Linked DNA regions of Homo sapiens: regions 2, 3, 4 and 5 are each linked to region 1. Evidence: promoter capture Hi-C in human tissues and cell types (Jung and others, 2019). All regions are on one chromosome and are shown on one strand. The core of a region is centred on a gene start or on the middle of the fragment in contact, and the rest is flanking DNA. Distances in the headings are between cores, read along the strand shown. Region 1 holds the start of GRIA1 (glutamate ionotropic receptor AMPA type subunit 1). Region 2 overlaps GRIA1 (glutamate ionotropic receptor AMPA type subunit 1). Region 3 overlaps GRIA1 (glutamate ionotropic receptor AMPA type subunit 1). Region 4 has its middle 140 kb from the start of GRIA1. Region 5 overlaps GRIA1 (glutamate ionotropic receptor AMPA type subunit 1).

Evidence for each region. The method cuts DNA at HindIII sites, captures the fragments that hold promoters and counts their contacts. A contact is called where the count stands out against the background at its distance.
Region 2: a contact is called between a fragment that was not itself captured here and the fragment with the promoter of GRIA1 in region 1, in 1 of the 25 tissues and cell types used here (H1 embryonic stem cells).
Region 3: a fragment that was not itself captured here is called in contact with the fragment with the promoter of GRIA1 in region 1 in 3 of the 25 tissues and cell types used here (aorta, hippocampus and liver).
Region 4: a fragment that was not itself captured here is called in contact with the fragment with the promoter of GRIA1 in region 1 in 1 of the 25 tissues and cell types used here (adrenal gland).
Region 5: a fragment that was not itself captured here is called in contact with the fragment with the promoter of GRIA1 in region 1 in 1 of the 25 tissues and cell types used here (lymphoblastoid cells).

The regions. Positions count from the first base shown.
Region 1 is chr5:153,487,984-153,491,929 of GRCh38, reverse strand. GRIA1 (glutamate ionotropic receptor AMPA type subunit 1) reads right to left here and starts at 1,260. Exons shown (of 16, transcript NM_000827.4): 1 at 960-1,260. The coding sequence starts at 1,041. The HindIII fragment of the contact is 6,455 bases long and covers 1-3,946 here.
Region 2 is chr5:153,631,557-153,635,611 of GRCh38, reverse strand. The region is part of intron 2 of GRIA1 (glutamate ionotropic receptor AMPA type subunit 1); the gene reads right to left. Among named protein-coding and RNA genes, the nearest start is that of GRIA1, 140 kb to the right of the region's middle. The HindIII fragment of the contact is 5,028 bases long and covers 1-4,010 here.
Region 3 is chr5:153,740,876-153,744,705 of GRCh38, reverse strand. All of the region lies in intron 11 of GRIA1 (glutamate ionotropic receptor AMPA type subunit 1), which reads right to left. Among named protein-coding and RNA genes, the nearest start is that of LINC01861, 160 kb to the left of the region's middle. The HindIII fragment of the contact is 5,507 bases long and covers 1-3,830 here.
Region 4 is chr5:153,345,677-153,349,512 of GRCh38, reverse strand. No RefSeq gene overlaps it. Among named protein-coding and RNA genes, the nearest start is that of GRIA1, 140 kb to the left of the region's middle. The HindIII fragment of the contact is 9,148 bases long and covers 1-3,836 here.
Region 5 is chr5:153,697,030-153,701,258 of GRCh38, reverse strand. GRIA1 (glutamate ionotropic receptor AMPA type subunit 1) reads right to left here. Exons shown (of 16, transcript NM_000827.4): 9 at 3,105-3,215; 10 at 2,186-2,392. Among named protein-coding and RNA genes, the nearest start is that of LINC01861, 200 kb to the left of the region's middle. The HindIII fragment of the contact is 5,190 bases long and covers 186-4,229 here.

The DNA.
Region 1 (3,946 bases), core at 11-2,510:
GCTTTCCCTCATGATTATCAGGAGTAGCAATATCTGTCAGTCCCCTCAGAAATACAGGGAGGGTGGCGGGGCCTTTGAGAAGTGTAACAACTAAGAAGGGGAAATGGGGAACAAAAAAAGCATGCAGCATGTTGAAACCTGCCTCCAAGTTGAGAGGATGGAGCCCAGTAACAAGGATAATGGAGAGCCAACAGGAGGAGAAAGGAGCATGTGTACGTGTGTGTGTTTGTGTGTGTAAAAGGTAGACCTCTGTGGATAGGAAATCTAAGAGGAGGGGGCAAGGAAGGAACGGAGAAAAGGCAGGCGAGGAAGTTCCAGGATCGGGGGAGTGGAGACCACCAGCGCAGCATGGCAGACAGCAAAGAGAAGGCAGCTGGAGGAGTCCAGAACAGGAGAGGGAGCCTACCCGCCTTGGAGTGGGGGCCTTCTGGCATTATTTCAGTGGCTGCAATATACCCAGCACCCCTCACTCCTTCTTCTCGAGGGTCTCTTTTCTGTCCCCCAGCAGAGAAAGCACTGCCTCCTTCAATTACATATATATGTGCATATGTAATATATAATCACACACGTGAAAACACACACACCATACATACTTACATTAAAAATGGAATCAAGCACCATCTACCAAGCAATAGAGTTAACTCCTTAAACACCCACCACCCTTTCCAGCCTGATTTTTTTTTTCCTCCAAAGCGATGGTTCCTCCATTTCACATGCTCTTGCCTGGAGTGCGAGTAGGGTATGTGTGCGTGTGTGAACACTTCCCCTCTGCCCCTCATCCGATCAGGAGAAGCCCCCTCCTCTGGCTGTAAGCCCAAGTCTCCCTTCTGTTACCGCAGCACAGCTTTAGGGAGCCAAGCAAAACAGTCAGTACCGGGGAGGGGGTACACAACCCCTATCCCCAAAAAAATCCCTGGCCAGACCCAGAAAGTCCCTCCCCAGGCTGCCCCCTCACTCACCGATCTGGATATTGTTGGGGAAATTGGCACCTACTACCGCGCCTAGGAAACCGGTGCAGAAGAAGGCAAAAATGTGCTGCATATTCCTTTTTGCATTGGCGAAAAAGAAGCCCAGGTCCAATCATAGATTTGGTGTTTCCCCCCCTTTCCCTTTATTCTTCTCGCTGTTCTGCCTGTTCTTTTCCTCCTGCAGTTCCTTCCTTGCTTGCTTGCTTCCTTCCTTTCGTGAGGTTTGTCTGTTTCCCTTGGAATCCGAACACTTAAACTGCAGCGTTAACACCAACTGACAGCCAGATTAACTGAGCACGGGAAAAGAAGCCCGTCCTCATGCTAGCTGGAGCGCTGGCTCCCCCACTCCCTCTCCTCTCCCCTCGCAGCCTGCCTCTCTCTCCCTCCCTTGCTCTCTCTCGCTCTCCCCCTCACACTCACACAGGCAGCAAGCTCTATGCTAATACCCACCGAGCTAGCTTGGAGTTCCACAGCCGACCTCCCTACCTGTTCCCCCTTCCTCCCATCCTCACCTTATCCTCCTTTCTGTGTGTGCAGAAAGGTGGAGGTGGGGGTGTGTGACACGTGGCACTTGGTCCTGAAAGGGGCAACCCCACAGTCCTCTTTACCCTCCCCTGCCTTTCTGAGCTCGGTCTGCCCGCTCCCCCAGCCCCCAGGCTGAAGCTGCTGGGAATGTGGGTTCAGCTGTAAGTCAGTAGGTGGCAGGGGGTCCCCACAATAGTCCTCAATCCACCAGCTGCTTGATCTAGGTCACTTTTTCTAGGAGTGCATGGGCTGCGCTGGATATATCTCCTGCACTCCACTGGCCCAATTATTCCTACAACTAATTCCTGAGGGAAAGACCCTAGAAATCCCTCCTAGGAAATTTAAAGGAAAAAAAAAAAAAAGCTTTCTCTCTCCTAATGGAAGGAATGACAGATAGACAAACAAGGGAGGATCTGGAGTGACTGGCAGGTATTTTGACCAGGTATTTGACAGTCCCTGTCTACCTTTACAAGTGAAACGGTGGTCTCTTTTCAATCCTAGGCATTTAAAATGGGCCCCCTTCTCTCTTTCCCTGCATTCCACAGGAGTCTATAGCATCAGAATCGTGTGGGTGTACAATAAAGACTAAGGATACTTACACAGAGCAATTACATGAGTCATTTTGCAGGGATTCTAGTGAGAGGATTCAAGCTTCTTTCAGGTCTTTCTGGATGCTGGTCATGTCTGGTGTAAGCTGGAACTTCATAGACTCTCCTAGACCAGGGCTTCTGCTGAAATAACCTGTAGAGAGATCAGCTGTGTTCAGGATAGTAGTGTTAAATGCAAAGCAGCAGCCACTAGCCGCCACAGAATACAGTTTTTGAAGGAACTTTACAGATTTTTATCCATCTATCTTCACTCCAAACCTGTAAAGTGGCCATGAGCCCTGTTTTACAGATGAAAAAGATAAGACTTCTGGGATTAAGTCATAAAGACACAGACCTACTAAGATGTACAGTACAACCTACAAACTTGAGTGCTTTGGCCGTTACCAGTTGACTTACTGCCCTGGCCAGGACTCCTGTCCAACAGGAGATGATCCAGGAAAAGGAAAGTCAACTTTGTCTTTAGTAAGAAAGAAATAATAGACTTTGGACTCCATTTTGCTTTGCCATATGAATAGGCCATTTTATCCACAGACTCTTCACTTCCCTCACCAGGACTGTATATCATGTGGACTTGAGTGACAGCTACAAGGACTGGGATTTGTAAAAAATATCTGACCATGTACAATGAAGCCCCAAAATAGGAACAACTTGGAGGTCAAATGCTTTGTGATTTCCTATGCACTTTCACATATATTAATTAATTAGCTAAAATAATTTTTAAGGCTAATGTTTATTCACTATTTTGAATGTGCCAGGTACCATGCTAAGAAATGCACCTGCATCATTTATTTGTACAATACCTGTGTAGGTAGCCTCATGCCCATTTTATAGATGAAGAAACAGAGGTCTAAAAACTCACCCCAAGTTTTCACTGCTAATGAAAGAGATTGGGCATTTAAACACAGTAAATGCCACCATCAGGCCCCAGCTCTTAACTCTTAGGCTCTAATAACAGCAAGCACTGGGTAGGAACCTTCTAAAGGAAGAATAAGCATCAGCATAGGAAGATGAGAGAACAGAATCAGGAAAGATCACTTCTAAGGTCTCTGCCAACATTAAGAGTCTCTGATTTAATGATTCCATCTTTTAATTTCTCCATTTTCAGTTTTTGTATCTTACTACTTTGAATAGTACCTGGGGATCTTTTAGGTTCCCTAAGCTTTGTGCCTGGTAATAATAATAATTAGGCTGTCATTAAAGGCTTCACACCTTGCAATCACCTTTTAGAGGAAGCTCTTTAGACCCTTTACAAGCAAAACCTCAATGTCCCCCTGCATTAGGTAAGATTTGTTTTGCATACTTTGTAGGGAGGGGACTTTTAAGGGAGTCAAAAAGATGAATTTTCCATGGTCATTATAAATCATATAGTCAAGCAGATCTTCCTAAAACAGAGGTCTACGTCATTGCCCTGCTCAAGTATGGTCAATAGCTCCCCTTGGTCTATTAAATACATAGTTGTTCACTGATTAAATATAGAACTTACATATTTCAAGTGTAGGCATCTAGGTCAAACTACATTAGGTTCAATGTTTATTCCATGTTTCTTTATAATTCTCTTCATTTCAAATGTTGGTGGGGAACCTATTCTGTATCTCACAGGGTGCCAGGTGCTGGGCAATATGAAGAGGAATCAGACACAGTCTCTGCCTCAAGGCAGGTGAATGTGGCAGAAGAAGAAGACAGACGAACCCGGACAACTGTCACCCAGAAAGACCATGACAAGTGCTCTAAAAGATGTAAACACAGCAGCGGGGGAGCAAAGAAGGATGCAATCAGTGTGTCTGTCTGTGGGGATCCAGCAAGGCTTCAAAAGAACTGAGCCGTGAAGGATGAGGAGATTATAGG
Region 2 (4,055 bases), core at 247-2,746, 140 kb before region 1:
ATTCTTGGGTTAGGTTCAGGGGCCACAGTAAAGGCTACAGTCCAAGGCTGGAGTGAGTGTTCACTCAGCCTCATCTGGGGCTAGGAGGTGGGATTCACTAAAGAGCCCTGGTAGGGAGTACATCTACCTAGCTCTGCCTTTGTGCAGCCTTTGGGAACTAGCACATGAACCAGCCAAAGCAGAACAAACAAAAGCAAAGCCATTAGCCAAAGAGAAGTGGGTTGTGGGAGAGATTAGCTTTACAGCTTCCCCTCCTGGCCCAGTCATCTCCGCAATCCCCATAGTCACAAAATACCTTCTGCTGGTTCACGAATGAACCACTACCGCAAGGAACACCAGGTAAATCATCCGTTAAATGAAGGCAGACTCTTCCTTTGGCTGTCTTAATTTCTGTTCCTTGGGTGAGTGGCAGAAAAAAAATCTTTTGTTTCTTATTTGCCATTCTTTTCCTATGAAAGTCATACGTGCAAATGGGTTTTCCTAGGCCAACCAGCAAACGTACACTGTAATGCATACCCATGAACTTGATCAGCATCTGTCAATCAAGACAAAGCTTTACTGAAAGCTACAGAGGACAGCCCGAGGGTGCCCTAAATCAGCAAAATTCATCTTCTAGCTAGGATTTATCCACTGAGGAAGTGAAAGGACAAAAATGAAGGATAAAATAAAGCTATGGAAGATAAGAAGTTCTGCATCTTTAAAACCAAGTGGCAACACCAGAAACTAAGTCCCACTTCATCTATATCTGAATTCACTCCTGACCCCTGCCCTCAACTGATTTCTGGAGCTGTGAGCACTAATTAAGTTGAGGGGTAGACACAGAAGAAAAGCTGAATCATTTTTATTTCTGTTTTTGTAATCTATGGTCTCAGCAAAGCATGCTGCGAAAACGACATTTGAAACAAATGCTCGGCCAATAGAGTCTTGCAATGCACGTATACTTGCCTTTCCTTTTCCGCAGGGGTGTGAGATCAATCAAGAGTCTGCCAATAAGGGCACTTTGAACTCTGAGGCTCTGAGTTCTGGCCCTGCCTATCTCTCCCACCACATCTGCTTCCAGGCCATGACACCTCTGCCTGGGCTTCATGCTGGTCTTTCTCTTACCTTTCAGGACAGTCCCGACTTTCTTGCCTTGAGGTTTTACACAAGCTGTTATCTCCTAGAAAGCTCTTCCAACCCTCTTTAAGTGGCTGACCCCTTCGCATTCTTCAGATCTCAGCTTAAAATGTTCTCTCTTCATAGAGGCCTTCTCTAAAATACTCATCCTACTCTTTTTTTTTTCTTTTTTTTTTTTGAGATGGAGTCTCACTCTGTTGCCCAGACTGGATTGCAGTGGCGCGATCTCGGCTCACTGCAAGCTCCACCTCCCGGGTTCACGCCATTCTCCTGCCTCAGCCTCCCGAGTAGCTGGGACTACAGGTGCCTGCCATCACGACTGGCTAATTTTTTTTGTATTTTTAGTAGAGATGGGGTTTCACCGTGTTAGCCAGGATGGTCTCGATGTCCTGACCTTGTGATCCACCCGCCTCGGCCTCCCAAAATGCTGGGATTACAGGAGTGAGCCACCGTGCCCGGTCCCTACTCTTTATTCTCTATTGCGGTACCTTGTTTCTTTCCATCATACCTTATCTCTATCTTTAATTATTTTGTTTAACTTTTGGTTTATTTGTTTAATTTCATCTCCCTGATTAGGGCAAGAATCATGTTTATTTACTTATCACTATTGTCCTAGCATCTACCACAGTGCCTGGCACATGGGAGGCACTGAAACATGTCTGCTGAATGGAATAAATGCATAAATGACCAAGTAAGCTGCAGGTTCTTTATATGACTAAATGACCAAGTTAGCTGCAGGTTCTTTATATGAACTTAGTCATTTCTCCTCTTTGGGAGTTATTTCCTCATAAGTAAAATAAGTGAGATTTAATTAGCTCTAACACTCTTTCACCTCTCTAACTTATACATTTTCTTCTTTACTATTTTCCAGAAGGAGGAATGGAGGCATGACAACCAAGAGCACATGCTGCCCAGCCCAGGGACCAAAACTCAGGCCTCCTGGACAATTTCAACCACTGAGACTTTAGCAAAAGCTCAGCTGCCTTCTCTGCCAAGATGCTCCTCACTACCAAGTATTTAGTTCCCTTTGCACCAACGTTTGAATCGCTTTTCAAAGTTTCTCAAAACATGGCAGGAAACAACTCCTGCTAAGTAACAGAATTCCGGAAGACATTTGGAGAAAAAAAGGCATTTCTCACTATCCTGGAGTGTTCCCTTTGTATATCCCTGCTAAAATTAAGAGTTCCAGGAAAAAGGCTGAGATTCAAATTAATTCTGGAGGAAACAGTAAGCAAGGAAGAAGGGAGTATAAGGCACAGGAACATGTATACTATGAAACTGGGGGAAGCATTTGAGGAAAGAATGAAAATGAAGCAAATGTACTAGTTTTCCTGCTTTTGCATAACTCACTCACTCACAGATCCATGAGCAGGAGCCTCCCTGCCCCTGATTCACTCTCCAGCCTCATTCCTAACAGTTTGCCAATCACCTGAGGCCCCACCCACATAGATGCATATGAACCATTTCCTTCCAGGCCTGCATACTTTTGCATATCCTTCTCAAAAATGACCCTCCATACCTGGAAAACTTCTACACATCCTTCAAGACCCCAGCCAGATGTTGACTCCAGTGGAAAGCTTTTCACTCCTTCCAGAAAAAATTCATTTCTTCCTCCTCTAAGGTTCTAATGTACTTTCTGTCTTAGCATGTATCTTGATATTCTATAATTTCACATTTTCATATCTGTCTTCTTCATCAGACTGTGAACTTCTGTAGGACAGGGCTGGGTCTAATCTATTTCAAAAGTCTCAGGGCCTGTCCCTGACCCTGACATAGTAGATGTTCAATAACGGTTTATTGAACAGGTACTGGTCTGCTCACCTGTGACGTGAGGACCATAGTATCTGCCTTATGCGCCGTGAGGATCAAGTGAAGGAATAAGCTTACCAAAGTCCTAGATACATGTAAGCCATCTATTTATTTAAACTGCATAACCCAAATATGAGGTGGGCTGCACAGGATATTATTATTGTCCTTTTCTAGATGAGCTTCCAAGAGTTAAGTTGCTTGCTCTGAGTAGCACAGCCAATAAATATCAAACTAGAAAAAGAAAACCCAGCTGCCTGACTTTTGGTAGGATTTTCTCCCCCATCAGATCACCTATGCCTTTCAAAAATTAGCTGTAAGTTTGGTCATGCAGATTGACTAAAGAAAATATGGATGCACGTCCCTCTAAAGATGTCACAAATGTATTTACAATGCCCACTTTACATCTCCATTCTCACCCTGGCCTAGGGCTCTGCCACTGCTCACCTGTCACTGTAGACTTATTGCACTTTATCACTTGCCTTTGTCACTTTAATTCATCCCTGCCTCCACCTTGCCCACTTTCCCTTTTTCCGTTCTCATCCATCCTTCATCTAGCAGCCAGGAAGCTCTTTTGAAAATGGAAATCACATCCTGTCAAACAGATCCCCTCAAGCCCCTCATGCTTTCTCATCATGCTTTGAATAAAGTCCCAACTCCTTTGCATGACCTTTGAGAATCTGCACTGTCTAAGCGCTGTTGACCTGAAAAACCTTATCATTTCCCTTTCCCTCATCTGCTGCTTCTGCAACATACCACACCTCCCCCGATGCGGTTCTCACTGCCCAAAACTCTTCTCCCCTACTTTTGCTTGGCTGGCTTCTTGTTATCTTGCAAGGACCACCTTAAGCAGGTCATCCTGCTGTTCTCGGTCACAACATTTAGTTTGTATCCTTCACAGAACTTTACTCAAAGTCTTAATTACAGTTGAAGCCCTCTTAACTGATGCAACGTGGATGGCAATTAGATTATTTAAAAAATATACCAAAAAAACTTAAAACACTGTGAAGCACATGTATTGATCAATATTTTGATATCAGGAACTTGAAGGCACTTATAAAATAAATATAAGTTTAGATTTTCTTCCATGCTTTTCCCCAACCTTAGAGTCGTCTCTCTGATACCTAATATTA
Region 3 (3,830 bases), core at 1,103-3,602, 250 kb before region 1:
TCTCCTTGCTTTCCTCCTATTCATTGTTAGCACTGCACTAAATTATTAAATCATTAAAGGATTTTATATTTCTTCATAATTCTCTAGAACCTAATAACTGTACAGTCTCAATATTTGTTGAGTGAATGTGAAACTCCATAAGTAGGAAATTTGTAACGCTTTCCTCTGTAGGGAAAATACTTCTTAAGCTAATAAATAGCAAAAACATGATTGCACAAGGGATCATTTATTCTGAGTGAATAAACTGATTTCAAACACTTGAGGAGCACCCATTTTTGGGAAAGTGGAATCGAAATACATCCATAATTCTTACAGGGTCATTAAATCATGTTTCCTCAGAATCTTTACTCAGGAAAGCATTTGTTATAGAGCAAATTATTGCACAAAGTTAAAATAACAAACTTTTTTCTTTAAAGTATTATAAAAGACTAATGTTCTCACAGATCTAGACAGGTTTCCACTCTTGGTGAACTGTTGCCATAAATTTGCCTGAATTATTATCGATAAGAAATGCCAACTTTGTATCTCTCCCCCTTTTTCTCAGGGGTCCTCACTCAGAATGCCCTCCCTCTAACAAGGAGATAATTGGAGACACAGCCGGCTCTGGGCCTGCTCTGAGTTGAAAGAGGCACCAAGGAACCTTCAACTTCATCCTCACCCTCAGGAAATGGGAATTGTTCTTCCCCAGTTCTCAAAGAGGAGAAGCAGCCCTTCCTAGCTGGGACATGATATTATGTTCATCACTAGGACCTGGGCCCTGTGTCCAGCTCTGCCATTGGACCTTAACCTCTGTGCTCCACATATGTCCAATGAGCATGAGATTATCCACCCCGTTATGCATAGGATGTGCAGTAGGCAGAATTCTAAGATCGCCCCATGACCTCTGCCCCCTGGTGTTACTGCTATGATTATGTTATGTTCAATTGCAAAAGGGATTTTGCTTTTGCCCATGTAATTACGTTTATTAATCAGTTGAACTTAAGACAGGAACATTATCTGGGCGTACCTAATCTATGACATGAGTCTTTTAAAAGAAGAATTTTCTCCATCTGGAGGAAGAAGAGGAAGACAGAGAGATTTGAAGTGGGAGGGATTTAATTTGAGGGAGGGTCCTATCACTGAGTTGGAGGGGCCATGGGCAAGTATCTGAGATGGCCTCAAGAAACTGAGAGTGGTCCCCAGTGGCAGCCAGCAAGAAAATGGGGATTTCAGTCTTATATCTACAAGAAACTGAATTTTGCTAATAAAAGAAAGGAGTTTGGAAGAGAACCCCCAAGCTCCAGAGGAGAGCTCAGCAGGCTGACATCTTGATTCCAGTCTTATGAGAACCTGAGCAGAGAATCAAGTCACAGCCTACTGGACTTCTGACCTATAGAACCATGAGGTAATATATGGGTGTTGTCGAAGCTACTAAGTTTGTGGTTATTCATTACACAGCAATGGAAAACTAATGTATGGTGACTGACAATCATTATACAATACTCCCTTAAGCCATTTTTTTGTGTCTGCCATTTGACGATGTCTGCAATAAATTCCTAATCTATCATTTTAGCCTCGGTCTCCACTTTTCTCCTCTCTATTTTCTGGGTGAAGAGGCAGTTAAGAATAAAGGCTCACTTTCAGGCTGCTTGGGATCAAAAGCCATTCTGCCAAGAACTGGGTGGTGTCCTTGGACAAGTTACCTAAGCACACTAAGCTTCAATTTCCTCACCCACAAAGTAAGGTGTGATAGGCAGAAAATTTGCCCCCCAAAAACATCTATGCTCTAATCCCTAGAACTTGAGAATATGTGACATTACAAGGCAAAGAGACCATTCAGACAGAATTAAGGTTAGGGATCTTAAAATAGGAAGATTTTCCAGGTGGACTCAATGCAATCATGTTGGACCTTAAGATTGAAAGAGGAAGGCAGAAGAGTTGCTCAAGGAGTAAGACAGAAGAAGACATAGGAAAGATATAAAGCATGAGAGAAGGTTGATCTTCCATTGCTGGCTTGGAGAAGAGCAAAAGGGGGCCACAAGTCGAAGACTAAGGGTATCCTCTAGGAGCAGGAAAGAGCCCTTAGCTGAGAACCATGAAAGAAACCAAGATCTTAGTCTCACAAACACAGGAAGTGGATTTTGCCAACAACCTGAATGAGCAAAACACCATATTCTCCCCAGAGGTCCCAGAAACAAATATCACCCTGCTCACACCTTTATTTTAGCCCTGCAAAGCCCATACTGGACTTTTGAGCTACAGAACTGTAAGATAATATATTTGTTTTGTTTTAAGCCGCTGTAAGATTTAAGTTCTGTTATGGCAGTGATGGAAAATGAATAAGAATAAGTACAGGTAAGTCACACAGGACAGCGACTGACAGAGTGAGTGGTAACCTATGCTACTTCTCGTGACTATTGTTAGTCATCCACCGCCCTGTCCATTCTGAGTACTTTCCTTCCTGCACACTCCTACCTTCTTCTTATCTTGCTTCCCCATATGTGCCTTTAGACATTCTTCCTCACTTCAAAATCCATCTCCAATGACAACTTCTTCAAGAAGTTTTTCTGGACCCCCTCAGCCAGGTGCAATCTCTTCTAAAGCAACATATTTTTTTTCGTATCTTTCCTAGCTATTATATTTACTTAAACTTTAGGTTGTATAAAGGGGTTTCTCTGTTAAATTCTGTATGCTGTGATATGCTATGCAGTGATAACAAACAGCCTGCAAATCCCCAGATCTTGGCTTAACACACTAGGCATATTTCCTCTTTTTCTTTTTTTTTTTTTTTTAAAAAAAGCTTTAGTTTTATACGTTAAGAATGCTTAACATGAGATTTATCCTCTTACAAAATGTTTTCAGTGCACAGTATTGTTGACTATAGGTACAATGCTATGCATCAGCTCTCTAGAGCTTACTCATCTTGCTTAACTGAAATTTTATGCCTGCTGATTAGTAACTCCTCATTTCCCCCTGCCTCAGTCCCTGGCAACCACCATTCCACTCTTTAATTCTATGCATTTGACTATTGTAGATATCTCATATAAGTGGAACCATGCGGTATTTGTCCTTCTGTGACTGGCTTATTTCACTTAGCATAATGTCCTCAAGGTTCATCCATGTTGTTGTATATTAGAGAATTTCCTTTTTTAAGCCTGAAAAATATTCCACTGTATGTGTACACCACATTTTCTTTATCTATTCATCTGTCAATGTACATTTAGGTTATTTCCATATTTTGGCAACTGTGAATAGGGCTGTAATAAATATGAGAGTGCTAATATATATTCAAAATGCTGATTTCAATTATATTGTATAAGTACCCCTAGAAGTGGGATTGCTGGATAATATGGTAGTTTTATTTTTAATTTTCTAAGGAACCTCCATATTGTTTTCCATAGTGGCTGAACCATTTTTCATTCTCACTCACAGTGTATAAGAATTCTAATTTCTGGCCGGGAGCGGTGGCTCACGCCTGTAATCCCAGCACTTTGGGAGGCCGAGGTGGGCGGATCACTAGGTCAGGAGATCGAGTCCATCCTGGCTAACACGGTGAAACCATCTCTACTAAAAATACAAAAAATTAGCCAGGAGTGGTGGCAGGTGCCTGTAGTCCCAGCTACTCGGGAGGCTGAGGCAGGAGAATGGCGTGAACCTAGGAGGCAGAGCTTGCAGTGAGAAGAGATTGTGCCACTGCACTCCAGCCTGGGCGACAGAGTGAGACTCCATCATCTCAAAAAAAAAAAAAAAAAAAAAAAAAGCCAATTTCTTCACATCCCTGCCAAGACTTGTTGTCTTTTCAGATGTATTTCTTGCTCAGGTTACGTATCTATGGCAGGCTGGTTGGAGGT
Region 4 (3,836 bases), core at 479-2,978, 140 kb after region 1:
AGTTGCCTCACCCTTCACTCTGTCGTATGACTTTGCTTTATTTATTTATTTATTTTTTTTTACCATTTCTATGACTACTTGAAATTATATACTTTAATGTCTCTCTCTATCTCTCATTCATTCTCCCCAAATAGAATGTCACCTCCATTGAAGCCGGGTCTTTACAGTTTTGTTCAGTTTCCAGCACCCACACTAGGACCAGCACGTAGGAATCGCTCAATAAATATTCCTTAATAAATAAATTGGCAGAGACAGACCTTAAACCAGATATATCTGAAACCGAATTTCCTATTCCTCAGTGCCAAGGGTCCTGCCTCTTGGAGAGTTTTGTTAATACCCTGATCCGACATTTAAGAGCTATAGAAACTTGTATGAGTCACTTTCTCTCTCTGGGCCTCAGTTTTCTCATCTGTGGAATGGGATGGGATCCAGAGTTCTCACTCTTCCCAACTCTAAGGGTTTCTCCAAGATACCTACAAATTAATGCTTCTGGTCATTTTTATTTTTAAATTTAATGTTATCTACTGTAAGGTATTAAAACATTACCTGATAAAGAATGTGTGTGGGCTTAGGTAGTTCTGAGGTCACATGTTGACTTTCCTACTTATCTATGTGATATTTGGAAAGTTTCTAAACTGCTTTGACATTAGCTTTCTCATCCACAAGATAGAAATAATGACACTTTAGAAGATGGTTGTGGAAATTAGATGAAGTGCCACAGAAAAGACAGAGAAATTCCTGGCATTTCGGAGACAGTTGACAAACGTGAGTTGCTTTTCTGCTTTAATACAATCAAGCTACAAAGACATGGTCAGTGTCAGAACCCTGAGGACTCACAGACAGGTATGCAGTGCAGGAATAAATATGAGGGAAAAGATCTAGGCAGAAGAGGAGAGTTAAAAATGTATTTAATAATAGTTATTAAGCACTAATTTAGTGTCCTGTCTTATGATCAATGAGATGCAATCTATAAATCTAATGAGATCGACATGTGGACAGACAGTGTTTTTGTATTCTTTCTTTTGTGTTACTACTTTCTTTTTTTCTTTCTCTCTGTCCCTTCCTTTCTCCTTTGTTCCCTTTGCAACCTCACAAAGTTTCTGTGGGTTGGGGATTGGAAGAATCTTAGATGGGCTGTTCTGGCTTTAGATTGTTCAAGAGGCTGCAGTTGTTTCAAAGCTTGATCTGGGTAGGATCTGTTTCCAAGAAGTAGCTAACTCACATGGCAGTTGGCAGATCTCAGAAAACCCACTTCCCAACTCATTCCTGTGGACTTTCTACAAGGTTGTCTTATGGCATGTCCACTGGCTTCCCCTGGAAGTAAGTGATCCAAGAGAGAACAAGAGAATCCAAGATGGAAAACACAGTGTTTTTGTAACCTAATATCAGAAGTGACATCCTATTACTTGTGTGTTAGTCTATGGTATTCTATTAATTAGAAGGTAGATTTTAAGTTCAGCCCACATTCCAGAGCAGAAGAGTCTGTCACATCTGATTTACAATTTTATTTGATAAAAGAATGCCCTTGCTTCAAACAAACAAATAGAAAATGTTTGAGAACTACTTTCCTAGATTATGGCCATGATCATCTTAGCCTAGAATAGTGGTTTTCAATCTTGGCAACCCACTGGAATTACTTAAGCTGTTTTAAAAAAAAATACTAGTGGCTGGGTCTCAACCCCAGAAATTCTTATTGAGTTGCTCTGTGATGTAGCCTGGAAATTGGGATTTTTTTCAAAAGCTCCCCCAGTTAATTCTAACGTGTAGCTAAGGCTGAGAGTCACTGGCCTAGAATATTTTCCAGGAAGTATTTCCCATAAACCAGTATAGCAATTTAAAAATACCTCAATAGTACACTTTAATAACAACAAACTTCAAATCATGTGACACCCTGGTGAACTCCCAGAGAAAAAATTAGTTGTGAAATGTAATAAAATAATCAAATAAATTGACCTGTTGTCAGAATTGTTAGTGCTGACCTAACTTGGCATTGTAGGGTGGCAGAAGGTGTCTGTCAAAAATGATTTTGGCTTCAAAGCAGTTGTGATTCAGAGCCACTTATCTTCTACAAATATTTGATAGCAGGGCTCATGGTGTATTGAGGACACTCCTGGCTCAGGAAAATAAACCTTCATCAGGAACGTTTTAGAAGGATGCTCTTCTGTCTATTCACTGTGGTGGGAGAACCTCCACCTAGCTTATCCAGGAGAGGTGTGAAGGCAAGAAAATACTGGTTTAAAAGACTAGGTCCCTGTTTTATCCGCACTTGAATCATTAGTTGATCCAACTAGAGATTTTTTTCTCTATCTGCTCCTACCTCTCTTTGTGGGTTTAAGGTGACCATTCTATAAAAATATAACTAATGAAGTGGGAAGAGAGAGGAAATATGAGGTCAAATAACACAGCTGAGTTTTTGAGAGTTGATTGTAAATGCGTGAATAATGCTTCTTAGCCAAAGGCAGCCAGAATGATGAAGGAGAGATTAAGAACTACAAATGGTAATGACTGCAGATACCATACATTAACTACAGAGACTGGATAATTACACTCAAGGGTCAGGATAGCAAAAGTGATATACATGCCTGCTTCGTGGATGCCCATTGCTGCCAGGAAAGATGTGGAATAAATGAGCACAAGTAGAACATGAATATTTTTCACATTAGAATTGCAATTACACTGAAAATAAAAGTTTAAAAGAATTATTAATTATCAGATATAGATTATAAAATACACTATCATGTTAATTACTACTACCACCACCACTGAACTGACTAGGGAACTCATCACTGTATTATAATCTATAAGTATTATCTTATTTAATGAGTATGATAGCTCCAAACTTACATATGAATGCTTCCATGTTGCTCACGAGGAAATTGAGGCATTGAGAGTCAATAACTTGTCCAAAGTCATCTAGCTAGAATGGGGTAGAGCCAGGACTTTAACTCAGGTCTGTTGAACTCCAAACATACACCCTTTAAATTTTATAAGATGTAATGAGGGAAGTAACGTGAGCTGTACAACTTCAGGAAAAATATATTTCTGTGGGCTAGGTTTGAGATAACATTTTGCCCATCCCTGTGACTTTGAATTCTTGAGTCAGTAGGATCTCAAGATTCTGACAGCCATGTTCTTCTGATCTCATGGTATCTCATGGCCCTTTGACTCTTGTTCACTGAGTGGAAGAATGAAAGAAACCAATGCTGTGTATGTCGTGTGTTATAGATCTCTTCACAGAGTAACAAAAGCATAACCATAGTAAAGAGTAGTTCTACGTCTAAAGCAGAGTCTGTTGACCTGAGAAACCCAAAACAACATATATTACAAAGGAAATCATCATGCATTTTAGATGGGCATTATTGTTTGCTAACGTGTTGCTTAGGACTTAAGGTAGAATAAAAAATGTACTGCAAATAGGTTCAAGTCATATCCAATGAGAAGACAGAACAGGGGAGGGAGTGATTCTAAATGGTCCAGAGTCAGCATAAAAGGTAGAATCATAGGAGTCTTCTAGAAGACAGACTCACTGGATCTGACATTTGAAGGATGTGTAGAATTTCTAGAAGCAGACAACAGGCAGTGATATGGTAGAGCTGGCTCATGAGAATGGAATGTGCATGTCTCTTCCCAACTCTTTGTCCAATGACATCTAATTGGTAGTTTGAAATTGGCCATAATGAGACTATTTACATCATGGAAATGGGCAAATATTACAAATCAGTACCAGCACACCACTAAAGATAAGTTAGAAGTCCCCTGTAGTTAGAGATGCTGGTGTGAGTGTACATTAGGAGAAATCAAGTGACATAAGATATCTAGAGGAAAATCAGGTTGGA
Region 5 (4,229 bases), core at 1,531-4,030, 210 kb before region 1:
ACCCATAGGTAACTCCAGCTGGCCTGAGCCCTGCTGTGCCAGTGACTCACCACCAGCTGTGTTGGCTACTGGGGATGATCCTGGCATTGTTCTGCCCACACTGCAGACTTTTAACCAAGCAAACCACATTACATGAGGTGAAGGTGAAGATAAATGCTAGAGAAGGTGAAAAGTGCACAGCAGTTGCCATGGGGATGACCTTAAGAGCTTGATGGGAGTTCCCATGGAAACCAGCCTCCAGCTGCAGCATGTACTATCCAGGTCTCTACCTTTTGTCCATGGAGCTTCCCAAAGTGAGAGGTGGTAAAGGGAATAAGAAAGGAGAGAAGCACATCCCATTCCCCAACTCAATAACCACCTTCACATGTCATCTCAAAAGCTACCTCCCTGAGGAAGATTTCCTTTATTCCATCTTTTTCTTCTTTGAATTCCCTTTGTATGTCTCTCAGGGCCATCATGGCTCCTCTTGCCCTGATATGAAACAAGATTTATCATCTTCCTCAGTGGCTGCTTGTCCTTATGAGCACTTAACATTGACCTGGGGCTTGGCATGTGTTTTAGTTTCTATGAGTGAAGCCGTGGTGGTCCCTTCCCTGCACAAGGCAGCTGGAGGCTTCTTCCATTGCCTTTTGTTGTCTTTCTACTCAAATACCTTCGTGATCTCCCAATGCCCACTGAATCATCCACACTCTTCCTCTTGCTATTTTTTACTCATATGTATCCCTGACTACTCTTCAACCCAAGTCCTCAACAAAAACCATGCGTTTTCTCATTCTCCTCTCACACCTTACTTATTTCCACCACCATCCTATTGTTTATACTTTAAAAATTCCTGGGCTGCTTTTCTCTCATATGTTTTTTATTATCATTTTTGAGACAGAGTTTCGCTCTTGTCTCCCAGGCTGGAGTGCGATGGCATGGTCTTGGCTCACTGCAACCTCTATCTCCTTGGTTCAAGTGATTCTCCTGCCTCAGCCTCCCAAGGAGCTGGGATTACAGGTGCCCGCCACCATGTGCAGCTAATTTTTGTATTTTTGGTAGAGATGGGGTTTCACCATGTTGGCCAGGCTAGTCTCAAATTCCTGACCTCAGGTGATCCACCTGCCTCGGCCTCCCAAGGTGCTGGGATTATAGGCGTGAGCCACTGTGCCCGGCCTCTCGGTCTGTTTAAATATGGTCATTTTTCAAGTTTCACATCCCCACTGAGGGCTAGACAAACTCTAGTTAGCCCTTAGCTGAGCCATACAATATAGACTCCTTATTCTATACTACCTTTTACTATTTTCTCACATTGTCTTTTCTACCCCATAAAATGTTAAAAGATGGGGTCTTTTCTACCTCATAAAGTATTAAGCAAAAGATCAAATCTTTTGCTTCTCAATAATTCCCCAAATGCTTAAAACAATGTGGGACATTCAGCAGCTTTTCAAAACTGCTGTAATTTATTGAAGATTTTATAGCAATTGTGCATGGAGTTATTTCAAGTGTGGTGAGCACTATAAAGATAGAATAGTCCTACCCCTGTTACACAGGTAACCGTTATATAAGGCAGGGTAAACCATTAAAAAAAACCAGCAACTAAATTCTATAGGGGAAGGCGAGAACAATTAAAAGGCACATTCATACCTATTATGAGAAGAAAGAAAGAAACACACCCTGAAAAAAGTATTATTTGATATAGGTTTTGAAGGAGTAGTATCTTAGGGGTGGAGAGTGGAAGGGAGCACTCTAGGGAACAGAGTAATTAAGGGGCATTTGACTGAATTGGAAATTTCATGAGAGAGCATGAAACTAGAGAGGCAAGTAACTAGAAAGTTAGGTTGGCTCCAGATGCATTTAATATCAGAGAAGAAACTGATACTGAGAGAGCCACAAGTGACTTTGTATAGACAACTCAGCAGTCTGCCTCAAGAAAATTGATCTTGGAGCTATGCTGTCACCTGTGTTGGACGACAATCAACTGACGTCACAAGACTCTGAGTGGGATTGAGGGACCTGGGACCAGTAACCTGAACAAAGAGTGTCTGAAGAAATTGGATTTTGGATGACTCATCTGTTCAGCAGCAACAACACTCAATTACAGGGTTTCATAGACATCTGTGGGCAGGGCCACCCAACCACCAAATGATTTCCTGTCAAACCCTCTGCCTCCGCCCTCTAATTTCCCACCCTGCAGTGAACTTACTCCATAGACCAGCTCTCCCACCATGCCATTCCAGGCCTTCGTGTCAGGGTCTCGGGCTCCGTATTTTCCATCACTGACAATCTCCAGACGGTAGGAGTAGCCCACGTGCTTGGCAATCTCTGCCGCCAGCTCTACACAGTAGCCCTCGTAACGGTCATTGCCCTCAAACTGATTGGCGTTCTTCTTGAGCATCACATAAGGATCTTCCTGGAAGAGAAATGGGGAGATAGCAGAATGTGGGTTATGGGTTCACCCATGGGTAGGGAGGACTTTGGCATAGCATAATATCATGTTTGGTTAACACTGGGGAAGGCTCTCTAGCCCCTCAATTCACTTCCTAAATGTCTTCACTCCCTACCCCATTACAAGCTTCTTGTGTTAAGGAAGCAAACTTTGTTAAAATAAGAATGTTTTATCACTGAGATATGGCATACAGCTTTTCAAATTATGTTCCAGGATATTTTGTATTTTTTTTGGAAATACCTCTGGGGTCATCTTGAAGGAGAAATAGACCCTAAACAGGCTCCAGGTTTCTCATGATCAGTCACTGAAAATTACAGCATCTTCACTTACAGCTACTTTATGTATTGGACTTTCTTTGAAAATAGCTTCTACTGAGGGAGGACAGATGAAAACCAGCACAATTTAGTGTCATTCTTATGTTTTAAATATGGGAAAGCTGGCTCAAGAGAAAGTAAGTAAGTTACCCAAGGGTACAAAGGATGAGACAGTGAAACTAAGAGATACAGAGTGAAAACTCAGAGCCTCTCATTTTCAGGGCATTCCCTTTTCGACTTGCTGCTTTTATCTATTACACAGTTTTGGCAAGAAGAAAGGCCAGCTTTCAGTCCTGGTGGAAAACCCTTGTGCTGGCCTAGCTTGAATCCCAAGTAACCTTGATGAAGGACTGAGTACTCACTAGGATTGTTGTGACGATGTATGTTCTGTTCTGAACACTTGAATTATCGCCCCCAGCTTGGGCATCGGTGGCTGCAGGGACAAACTTATCATCTTCATTCCAGTAACCAATCTGTTAATGAGAAGAGAGTGGAGGTGTCAGGTGGGCCAGCCTCCTCTGAACTGGCCTGCTCTGGGTCACCCAGTCAATACCAGAGACAGGCAAGTAAGGAGCTCATGAAGAATTGGACACACCGAGCTCTAAAATATTGGTAAACAGAAATAATAAGAAGCACAGTGCTTTTCAGGTGCCCCCAATTTTGCTCCCAGGGAAAATCCCCACAATAATTGGTTCAGTTTGGAAATTGCCACCTCTGAGGGATAAGGGCTTAACTGTTTACACAGCCAGTCTGTTTTGTACAATGCAAGCCAGGACCATGGGATTTAATTCCCTGCAGTTGTTCACAGGGTCAAACCCCTCTTTCCCCCATGTCTACTAACCCTGCACTTCAGTGAACTCATTCTGAACTATAGTTGGAATCATATGATTTAAACATTACATTCTTTTACTTTATTTTTAGGTTAACTGTATTTTTCCATCTAGATTTAACTTCCTATGATGGTTGTTTATCCTTTATTTTTAAAAATTTCTTCTGTCTCCAAGTATAAACTATTACAATATTGAATATATAGGAGTGTCTAAAAATTATGGTTGACAATATTAATTTTTCAAATTTGAGTAGGTTATTTATACTAATTCATTTTCCAAGGTCTTTCAAGAAATATTAATTGAACTGCTATTGTGCACAAGGCTCTGAGCTAAAACATTAGTGTTGCTTGTTGTCAGGCAGGGTTGACGAGATGCAAAGAAGTCTGAGAGATAGGGCTTGCTCTGAGAACGCCTCTGGTCTACCATGGGAAGACATGACATGGCCGCAGAAGTGACAAGTGAGTGGGCCTAAGGAGTTCAGAGAAGCAAAAGCCAAGTGTGGGATCTTACACAGGGAAAAATGCAACAGGAGGAATCAGGGCTTATGATCATGAGAGATGAATGGTCTGGACCAAAACCTTTCAGGTTAGGGAGAATATGAGCCAAGATATGAAGACAGGAATCTGCCCAGATGTTTAAGTTCTGTGGGTCCTGGGT